Regions from separate parts of the Homo sapiens genome. Here regions 1 and 2 are each linked to region 3. The links are contacts of gene promoters, found by promoter capture Hi-C in human tissues and cell types (Jung and others, 2019). All regions are on one chromosome and are shown on one strand. The core of a region is centred on a gene start or on the middle of the fragment in contact, and the rest is flanking DNA. Distances in the headings are between cores, read along the strand shown.

What was found. The method cuts DNA at HindIII sites, captures the fragments that hold promoters and counts their contacts. A contact is called where the count stands out against the background at its distance.
Region 1: a contact is called between a fragment that was not itself captured here and the fragment with the promoter of EDN1 in region 3, in 2 of the 25 tissues and cell types used here (lymphoblastoid cells and stomach).
Region 2: a fragment that was not itself captured here is called in contact with the fragment with the promoter of EDN1 in region 3 in 1 of the 25 tissues and cell types used here (IMR-90 fibroblasts).

Annotation. Positions count from the first base shown.
Region 1 is chr6:11,746,581-11,749,280 of GRCh38, forward strand. The region is part of intron 3 of ADTRP (androgen dependent TFPI regulating protein); the gene reads right to left. Among named protein-coding and RNA genes, the nearest start is that of ADTRP, 31 kb to the right of the region's middle. The HindIII fragment of the contact is 3,656 bases long and covers 1-2,700 here.
Region 2 is chr6:11,766,895-11,769,792 of GRCh38, forward strand. ADTRP (androgen dependent TFPI regulating protein) reads right to left here. Exons shown (of 6, transcript NM_032744.4): 2 at 1,355-1,489. Among named protein-coding and RNA genes, the nearest start is that of ADTRP, 10 kb to the right of the region's middle. The HindIII fragment of the contact is 3,157 bases long and covers 1-2,898 here.
Region 3 is chr6:12,288,869-12,291,854 of GRCh38, forward strand. EDN1 (endothelin 1) reads left to right here and starts at 1,493. Exons shown (of 5, transcript NM_001955.5): 1 at 1,493-1,825. The coding sequence starts at 1,762. RefSeq lists enhancers at 1-102, 1,246-1,345, 1,356-1,425. The HindIII fragment of the contact is 6,997 bases long and covers 1-2,986 here.

The sequences.
Region 1 (2,700 bases), core at 68-2,567, 540 kb before region 3:
TCCTTGATTTAAGAAATAGGCAAAACAAAAGCATTTTGCAAGGCTGATTGACAAGAGTGGTCAGAAAGTCCAGAGGTAAGGAAAAGAGGGAAAGAACTATTTAGGAGAGATGTGTCCAATGTTGTGGAGTGGTATTCAGGCATGAGCACCAAATCTACTAGGTTTCCAGACAAGAAGGCTGTTGGTAAGCATGCAGGCCAGGCGCTTGCCCCTTGTGTTTCCAATGAGCCTGTCCTTCCTTCCAGGCTAAGTCCTCCATTTCTTGTTGAGTGTCTGGGACCTTTAGGGCTCAACCTCCTGCTCAGCGGATTCTTGGATGTGGAGCCAGGAGCCTGAACACTGAGGGAAGGTCAGCATAGAGATGCTCCCCAGAGGCCACTGCCGTCAGTTCCACAACCCCGAGGTTGGCTGGGAATCTTAACAAGTTTGTAAGTGTAAAATTTGGGCACCTGCAACGCAGGACCAGTTGGCAAGAAGCCCACTTGCTTAGAACCCACCACACTCCTGAGAACGCAAGCCTGGGGCATTGAGACAAATTCCCATGGCCAAGAAATGTGGCTCACTTCCTTATCATGGTCTTCTCAGGAAAAACTGAAACAAAATTTCTCCAAAGGTCACAAAATTCCTTCTCACCACAGAATAATACAATGTGGCTTTTAGGAGTTCCTAGTTGTGTTCAGAGGGAGATGCTGAAGACACACACATGCTTTTATTCATAACCAATTTGTACCAGGCGAGCTCTCCAGAATACCCCTCTGAAATGATTGTGCACTTTTTGGTTTCCAAATTCAGAAGACACAAAAAGCACAAGGGTTTGTTTTGTTTGTTTGTGTAGGGCACTTTAGCTTTCAAGCTGAATTTTCATGGGTAAATTAGTTTCTAATAAAAGGAAGAGAAACGCTGAAATCTCCTCTGTTTTTATGAGGCTTCTCTTTTTATTCTGCCCTCAACATAAGAAGAAACTTGATTGCTATTGGACTGTTAAAACTCCAAATTCCATAGCAGCCATGAAAACACTTGTTCTGTTTCTATTTGTGGAATTCCACAGGCATGGATTTACTTTTCATATGCACAACAAATGAACCTCATTCCTAGCTTCTTTGCCCATCAACAGGAACCCCTGGTTGGATAGCATCAGGTATGTCTCCCAGGGCCAGCAGCAGCCCAGCAATAGTGATGAGGAGGGAAACTGACCTATCACAGGCTTTCACAGAGACAGAAAGGGGCTGTTTCTTTTTTCAACTGTTTCTCCTCTTCCCCTGATGGCCTCTCTTTCATCTGGTTACTGCCATGATCATGTCCTTATTCCTCTGCTTAATTGCAGACTCTGCCTCCTTTTTTCTTTGATTCACTAATTCTTTGGAGACATGAATACACAGTTACCTAATTAACATCTGACCACGGTGGATGTACAGAGGAAAGTATCAGCCTAGAAAACTTTCTGCCAGAGAGTATATGCTTTTAGCTACCGCACCAATCAGAACAGACATTGATTCGCCTCAAGCAAAATATATGTAATTATGACTCTATGCATCTCTTTGAACGTAAGTCAGTCATGATTAGACCACGTGTCTCAGATATAACAACCAAAAGCCCTATAGATATTTCAAGGCACTGGTAAGCTTCCTAGCAGTGTCCTCATTTATAACTTTCTGTATAAAAGAACACTCCAAAGTGTCCAAATATACAGTGTCAGCTACAGACGCTGACACTTGGGTTGCTAAAGGCTTTCCCTCTGCCTCTAATGCTTCTTGGCCCCAGCACACCTCACTCCACCCCAAAGGAAGAAGAACTCTGGGGTCAGTCAAGGTCATAGAGAAACTACTGAAGTAAGAGATGAAGTCTTCATTCATTCTCTCATGCCATAATCATTAAGTGCCTACCACATACCAGGCATTGTGTGAGGTGCTAAGGATCAGAAGGTGGACAGATGTGGTCCCTGGCCTTGCAGACCTTACAGTCAATGGGCAAGATTTCCTGTGAGCAAGTAGGGAAACAGATACCAATCACAATATGTGCTATGAAGGAAAACAAACAGGAATCTAGGTACCAGAACACAAGTGGAGGCACGTACTTCATGGAAGGCAGTCAGGAAAAGCCATTCTGAGAAGACCACGTCCAAGATGTGTTCTAAAAGCTACAGCTGAGCCATGGGAGAGCAGATGGGGAGCATCTTGGGCAAGGGTGCAGTACGCACGAAGGTCCTGTAGGAGAATGAACTTCAAGAGCTGCAGGGCACAGTAAAGCCTGGAATGGCTGGAACATGGAGTGCCAGGGGGAGAGAAGCTCAATCTGTGTCTGCAGCATTAAGCAGGGCCCAGGTTTACCAGGTTTTGTTGGCCATAGGAAGGAGTTCAGGTTTATTCCAAGTGAAGCGGGAAGCCACTGCTGAGTACTAAAAAGGGAAATAACATTTTGCAATCGATTTTGCCATGGTCTGTAGAGGCCTGAAAATGAAAGCTGGAGGACCAGTTTGGAGATGTTGTATTTAGGTGAGAAATAAATGTGGCCACGAGGGTGTTGGCAGTGGAACTAGAAAGTGAACAGATTTGCTACCTATTCTGGAGGTAGAATGGATGAGAGTAGCTAATGGAATGGATAGAGTGGAGGGAGGTGGCAGGGTCAATGCTGGTTTCTGTCTTGGGCAATTGGGAGGATGATGGTTCCATTTCCTGAGATGGAGATGCTCAGAACAGATGA
Region 2 (2,898 bases), core at 83-2,582, 520 kb before region 3:
TGAATTGATCTCCTCTTGTACTCCTTGCCTCTCTTGTCAAAGCATCTATCCTCTATGCTACGAAGTCAACGCATAGATAAGGAAGTTAAAAACTATTAAACTTCTGATCTTCCTATCTTCTGACATTTCACACACTCCATTTCTAAGCCTCAAAAAATAAACAGACTTCACTGTTGATTTTAAAAACTTGGCTATAGCCAGACTTGGTGGCTCATGCCTGTAATCCTAGCACTTTGGGAGGCCAAGGCAGGCAGATCACTTGAGTTCAGGAGTTCGAGATCAGCCTGGGCGACATGGCAAAACCATGTCTCTACCAAAAATACAAAAAAGTAGCCAGGTGAGACAGGAGGATCACTTGAGCCTGGGAGGTTGAGGCTGCAGTGAATCGAGATCACACCACTGCACCCCAGTCTGGGCAACAGAGTGAGACTTTATCTCAAACCCCTCCCCTACCCCCCAAAACCAAAAAGCTTGGTCATTAGAAGATTTTACGTGGGCAGAGGTAGAGGTATCCTGCAAAGTAATAGGTATCCTTGCTTTGTTATCAGAGAACTCACTAGGGCTTGGAGAGTTGCATTTTGCATTTAAATTAAGTTCTGTACTATAGGAAGCAGGACAATGACAGGTAGAAGAAGGTAGTCATTTCTAATTATAGGCCCTGCTGGGCAGCCAGCATGCCTGATCTCTGTTTATTTCCATTCTAGCTAACGAATGGAAAACATGAACAATGTCATAGAAATGTGGATGGCATCAGCATACCAGCTTACTGTCCCTGCCATATGTCTCACTTCTTCCTGACATCCATCCACTCAGCAACATGAATGAGGCACCCACTGTGTACCCCACACCAGGCTGTCTTTCTCTCCTCGGTTGTCTTTTCCATGTGCCACCTTTGAAGGTCTCATATCTCTTTTCAAAAAAAAAATTATTTGATGGTTTTCCACTTGCAGAAGTAACATATACTTATCGTAGCAAGTGAAACAAGATGTATAAAAGGGGAAAATTCGTCATCTCCCTCCCCAGGGCTCTCCATTCCCATCACCCTGATGGAACCAAGGTTGTCTCAGTTGTATTTTGATTAAGAAAGGTCTTTCAAACTTCCCCATTAGACGGCAATAAGGACCTTGTACCAAGCCTTTGCAGAGGTACAAAAGCTAGTGATAAAGCTGATCACTAATGTGCCATATTTCCTAAAGACACTGGGCAATGTGGCGCAGTCCTCAGACAGGACATTGTTGTAAATGCAGTGGGTGTGGTTTCCAATTATGGGCTCCCAAACAGCTTGGCTGCCCAGGAGAAGCGTCTGTCCATATGCACATTTCTGTTAGATTATGTACACATCTTTGAAACTTACCGTGGATACAGGAAAAGCCAGAGTGGTGAAAAGCAGGTCTCTGAAGGCAGTTAGGAACTTAATGTCTTTTCCCCCTTTGGTTCTTTTCAGCACATCATCCAGGCAGGTGACCCCGTAGAAAATGGTCTGCAAGAGCTAAATCCATTACAACAAATGAGGGCATTTTCATTTACTTTAATTAATACCTTCTTCACTGATGGAAAACTCCATCCCTCTGAGAGTAATGTGGCTTTGAGAGGGAGAGGGCTGTTGGGTTGTTTTGGTTGAGAGCCAATTCAAGGGCTGGGCTTCCAGCTCATTGGGTCCTGACCCTGCTCGCTAAGACTGATTGAGCAAATTTGTTTAGGGGACAATAATGTGTACAGTATTTAGTGTAATGGACTTGAGCTAACATGGAAACAAAATAAAGAGTCAGCCTAAAAGGGGAATGTAAGGAGATGGATACCTTGACGGCACAGAGGTTGGAAGAACCAAATAAACAGCTCAAAGGCAAAGAGGCAGATACAGGGTGGACAGAGTCAGGAGTCTTCCTGGGAAGGAAAATTAGGAAAAATGCCTAGTGCTGAAATCTCACTAGAGAAACTGGAATCAGGTCAAGAGGACCACCACGAATCTCTGTGCTCTCCCAAGAAAGGCACACAAAAGGGTGCCTTGCTCAGCCGAAGAAGAGCCGGTGCACTTTCTTCCTTAAATAGGGCACCTGCAGGCCTCACCGAGACAATCTGGCCGTGGCAGCAATTTAAATCCAAGGGGATAGAGCAAGCCATGAGCGCTGGTGGGTTACTAAGTGCTGTGTGGCCCCCAAAGCCAGGAGAAAGAGAAGGAGGGTATTTTTCAAGAAAGTAATACGATATGGAAGGCAAGCTTTGTACATTCTTGTTGCTTTGTACAGTTCTGTGGTTTCTCATTTAAGAACTGGTAGGTCATGAAGATATGGAGTTTGGGGGGTGGGGTTAAGTTAGGCTTGCGACAGAATCCATCCAAATCCTTGAAAGCCCTGGACTGGTACAAGAGGGGTGGTCTGGACTCTGCTTTTAGGGTATAAGTCAGGAAGGTTCTAGAGCCTGGGGAGCTGGGCTGGGGATTGATCAAGGTGGCTGTTGGGGAACAATCTTTGAGCTCTGGACTCTAGGAAAGACCTAGCAAAGTCAGCCACATGCTGCTCCTGGGCTGAGGGCGTAGGCAGGAAATGATACAGAGGTGGGTCAGACCAGCTACACCCATCACCCAGGAGCTTGTTAGAAATGCAGGACCTCCATCCTATCCCAGACTACGGAATCAAAATCTCTGGAAATGGGGTCCAAGAGTTTGTTTTTTAAGAAGCTTCTCCAGAGCTTGTTAAAGATTGTTTATCTGGGTGGGATGAGGGGAGAAATTGAAAAACTACCTATTGGGTACTAAGCTGATTACCCGGGTCACAAAATAATCTATACTTATATAACAAACCTGCAAATGTACCCTTGAATGTAAAATAAAAGTTAAAAAAAAAAAAGAAATTTTTGGCCAACCTTATTAAGATACACTTTACAGAATATAAAATATAG
Region 3 (2,986 bases), core at 243-2,742:
CCAGAAAAACTGGAGTAAAACAAAAAGAGGAGATGGACAAAGTGTGTATTTGATGGCATCCCCTGGGAAGAGACTCTAAATTTATCCCATAGGTCTTACTGGGCCACTGTGAGCGCTTTGGTGGAGAACAAACAAAAATTCTGGGTGCTCAGTTGTCTAACCTGAAAAATGGGACTAGCGGAAAAAGCCAATGTGTTCCATGCACCTTTTGCTTTCTTTATTAAGGCATGATGTCACCTGTACAGTAACTGCCCTGTGTGTACTTCAGGGGGGGATTTCAAGGTTAGATAGACAGGAAATTGTTTTGAAAATGTAAACACATTATTAAATGTGAAGTATTATCTGATTCCTTGTTCGAATGGCATTTCCTTCTCAGCACCACCTTCCTTGCATATTCACTTAACCTTGTACAAGAACACCTTTTTGCCCTAAATGAAGACACCCCCCCAAAAAAAAGAGTCCCAGAAAATATGTCCCTGCTTGTGCGGGGAATAAATAGAATATTCTGAGGTGCATTCCTCCTTCCTATGTTAGGCAACATTCCTTGACCCTCCTCGGCCCCCAAGCCAGGTTGCGTTTTTTTCTGCCATTTAGAAGGGTTTTCCTTTTTGTCCTAGTAAAACATCAGCCCCTGTAGCTCTTCATCTCCCCCTGGTGTTCTTCTCCCGCCATGTCTTAAGATTGGTGGCACCGACCAATCTTAAGATTTAAGTTCTGTGTGAAAAACACCTTTGCTTTTCAATCAGTTTATCAGCCTCCTCCGCAGGGGAAGTGTGGACACACAAAAGAACTTATCGGGGCTTCTCATCAGTGATAGGGAAAAGACTGGGCATGTGCCTAAACGAGCTCTGATGTTATTTTTAAGCTCCCTTTCTTGCCAATCCCTCACGGATCTTTCTCCGATAGATGCAAAGAACTTCAGCAAAAAAGACCCGCAGGAAGGGGCTTGAAGAGAAAAGTACGTTGATCTGCCAAAATAGTCTGACCCCCAGTAGTGGGGCAGTGACGAGGGAGAGCATTCCCTTGTTTGACTGAGACTAGAATCGGAGAGACATAAAAGGAAAATGAAGCGAGCAACAATTAAAAAAAATTCCCCGCACACAACAATACAATCTATTTAAACTGTGGCTCATACTTTTCATACCAATGGTATGACTTTTTTTCTGGAGTCCCCTCTTCTGATTCTTGAACTCCGGGGCTGGCAGCTTGCAAAGGGGAAGCGGACTCCAGCACTGCACGGGCAGGTTTAGCAAAGGTCTCTAATGGGTATTTTCTTTTTCTTAGCCCTGCCCCCGAATTGTCAGACGGCGGGCGTCTGCCTCTGAAGTTAGCAGTGATTTCCTTTCGGGCCTGGCCTTATCTCCGGCTGCACGTTGCCTGTTGGTGACTAATAACACAATAACATTGTCTGGGGCTGGAATAAAGTCGGAGCTGTTTACCCCCACTCTAATAGGGGTTCAATATAAAAAGCCGGCAGAGAGCTGTCCAAGTCAGACGCGCCTCTGCATCTGCGCCAGGCGAACGGGTCCTGCGCCTCCTGCAGTCCCAGCTCTCCACCGCCGCGTGCGCCTGCAGACGCTCCGCTCGCTGCCTTCTCTCCTGGCAGGCGCTGCCTTTTCTCCCCGTTAAAAGGGCACTTGGGCTGAAGGATCGCTTTGAGATCTGAGGAACCCGCAGCGCTTTGAGGGACCTGAAGCTGTTTTTCTTCGTTTTCCTTTGGGTTCAGTTTGAACGGGAGGTTTTTGATCCCTTTTTTTCAGAATGGATTATTTGCTCATGATTTTCTCTCTGCTGTTTGTGGCTTGCCAAGGAGCTCCAGAAACAGGTAGGCACGCTCGTTGACTTGTAAGTCTCGGAATTACAAGTTAGTGTGTTCTTATCCACCTTCATGCTTTTCTTGCTTCTATTTTTCCCCGTTCTTTTTATGACTGCAGCTTAGAGAGCAAGTGTCTGAGAATTATTGCTGAAAGCTACTTTAAGTCTTCTAGTGTAAAATGTAAAATTCCTCTATTGAATACAATTAGGTGCAATTGACTATAACATGACATTAAAATAACTTATCGTTTTATTATTATTATTCCATTATGTGTTTCCTTGGCTTTTAAAAAATGAGAAGAGTATGGACATATACAATTTAGTCAAATGTATGTTTGTAATATATGTGTTTATACAGGTACACAGGCCATATAGGAACTTAAATCTTATTTAAACACTATTTTAATAGTGTGTTAACGTGTAAAATATTTAAGCATTCCAGCTTGAAGCCAAGGAATTGTATCCAGTCGTTCAAGCAATGTATGTTCAGTAAAATCACCTGCAGAGCAAAAGTCTGTTGACTAACTACCGCCTCCCCCCCCCCCCGCCACCACCCCCCGCAGGCGGTTTCTGGGTGAAGCAGATGTTTTCTTTAAAATTTGTCATCATTGACTTTAGGTTTCTTTTGGCAGGTTTTTGGCACCCAAAACAGTGTGAGCTCTCTTTTCAGCTTTATTCACCTGTGCTGGGAGGGGAGCTAGGATAATTCTTGGCTGCCGAAGGATTTAGGCAGTGCGTGTGCATCTGCCCGGGTCCCCCCCGTTTTTAGGGTCAGTGCACTTTTTTTGTCTTTTCGTGACCCTGACTAAAGAGAAAGGATGTCAAGGGAATGAAAATCCTGGAATGTGTCTGATCATTTGAAATGTACAAAATTGGGCAGATAAGCTGCATGGCTAAATTGTTAGGAGGAAGAGGCAAGGCAGTAGTGGAGAAGGGGGAGGCAGTGGATCCCACACAAGCCTGATGCCCAGGGATTCGGAATTCAAAATCCCCCCAGCCTACCTTCAGTCCCCTGACCTGCTTCTCAGCCCCACCTTAGGTCACTGGTTTCTATGGAGTTACCCTCCTGAATTGAATATTGAATAGTTAATTTCTCTCTCCAATCATTTTCCCCACCTAATTTTGAAAGATATACATCATCTGGGGTACCCTGTGCCCTACACAGCATGTG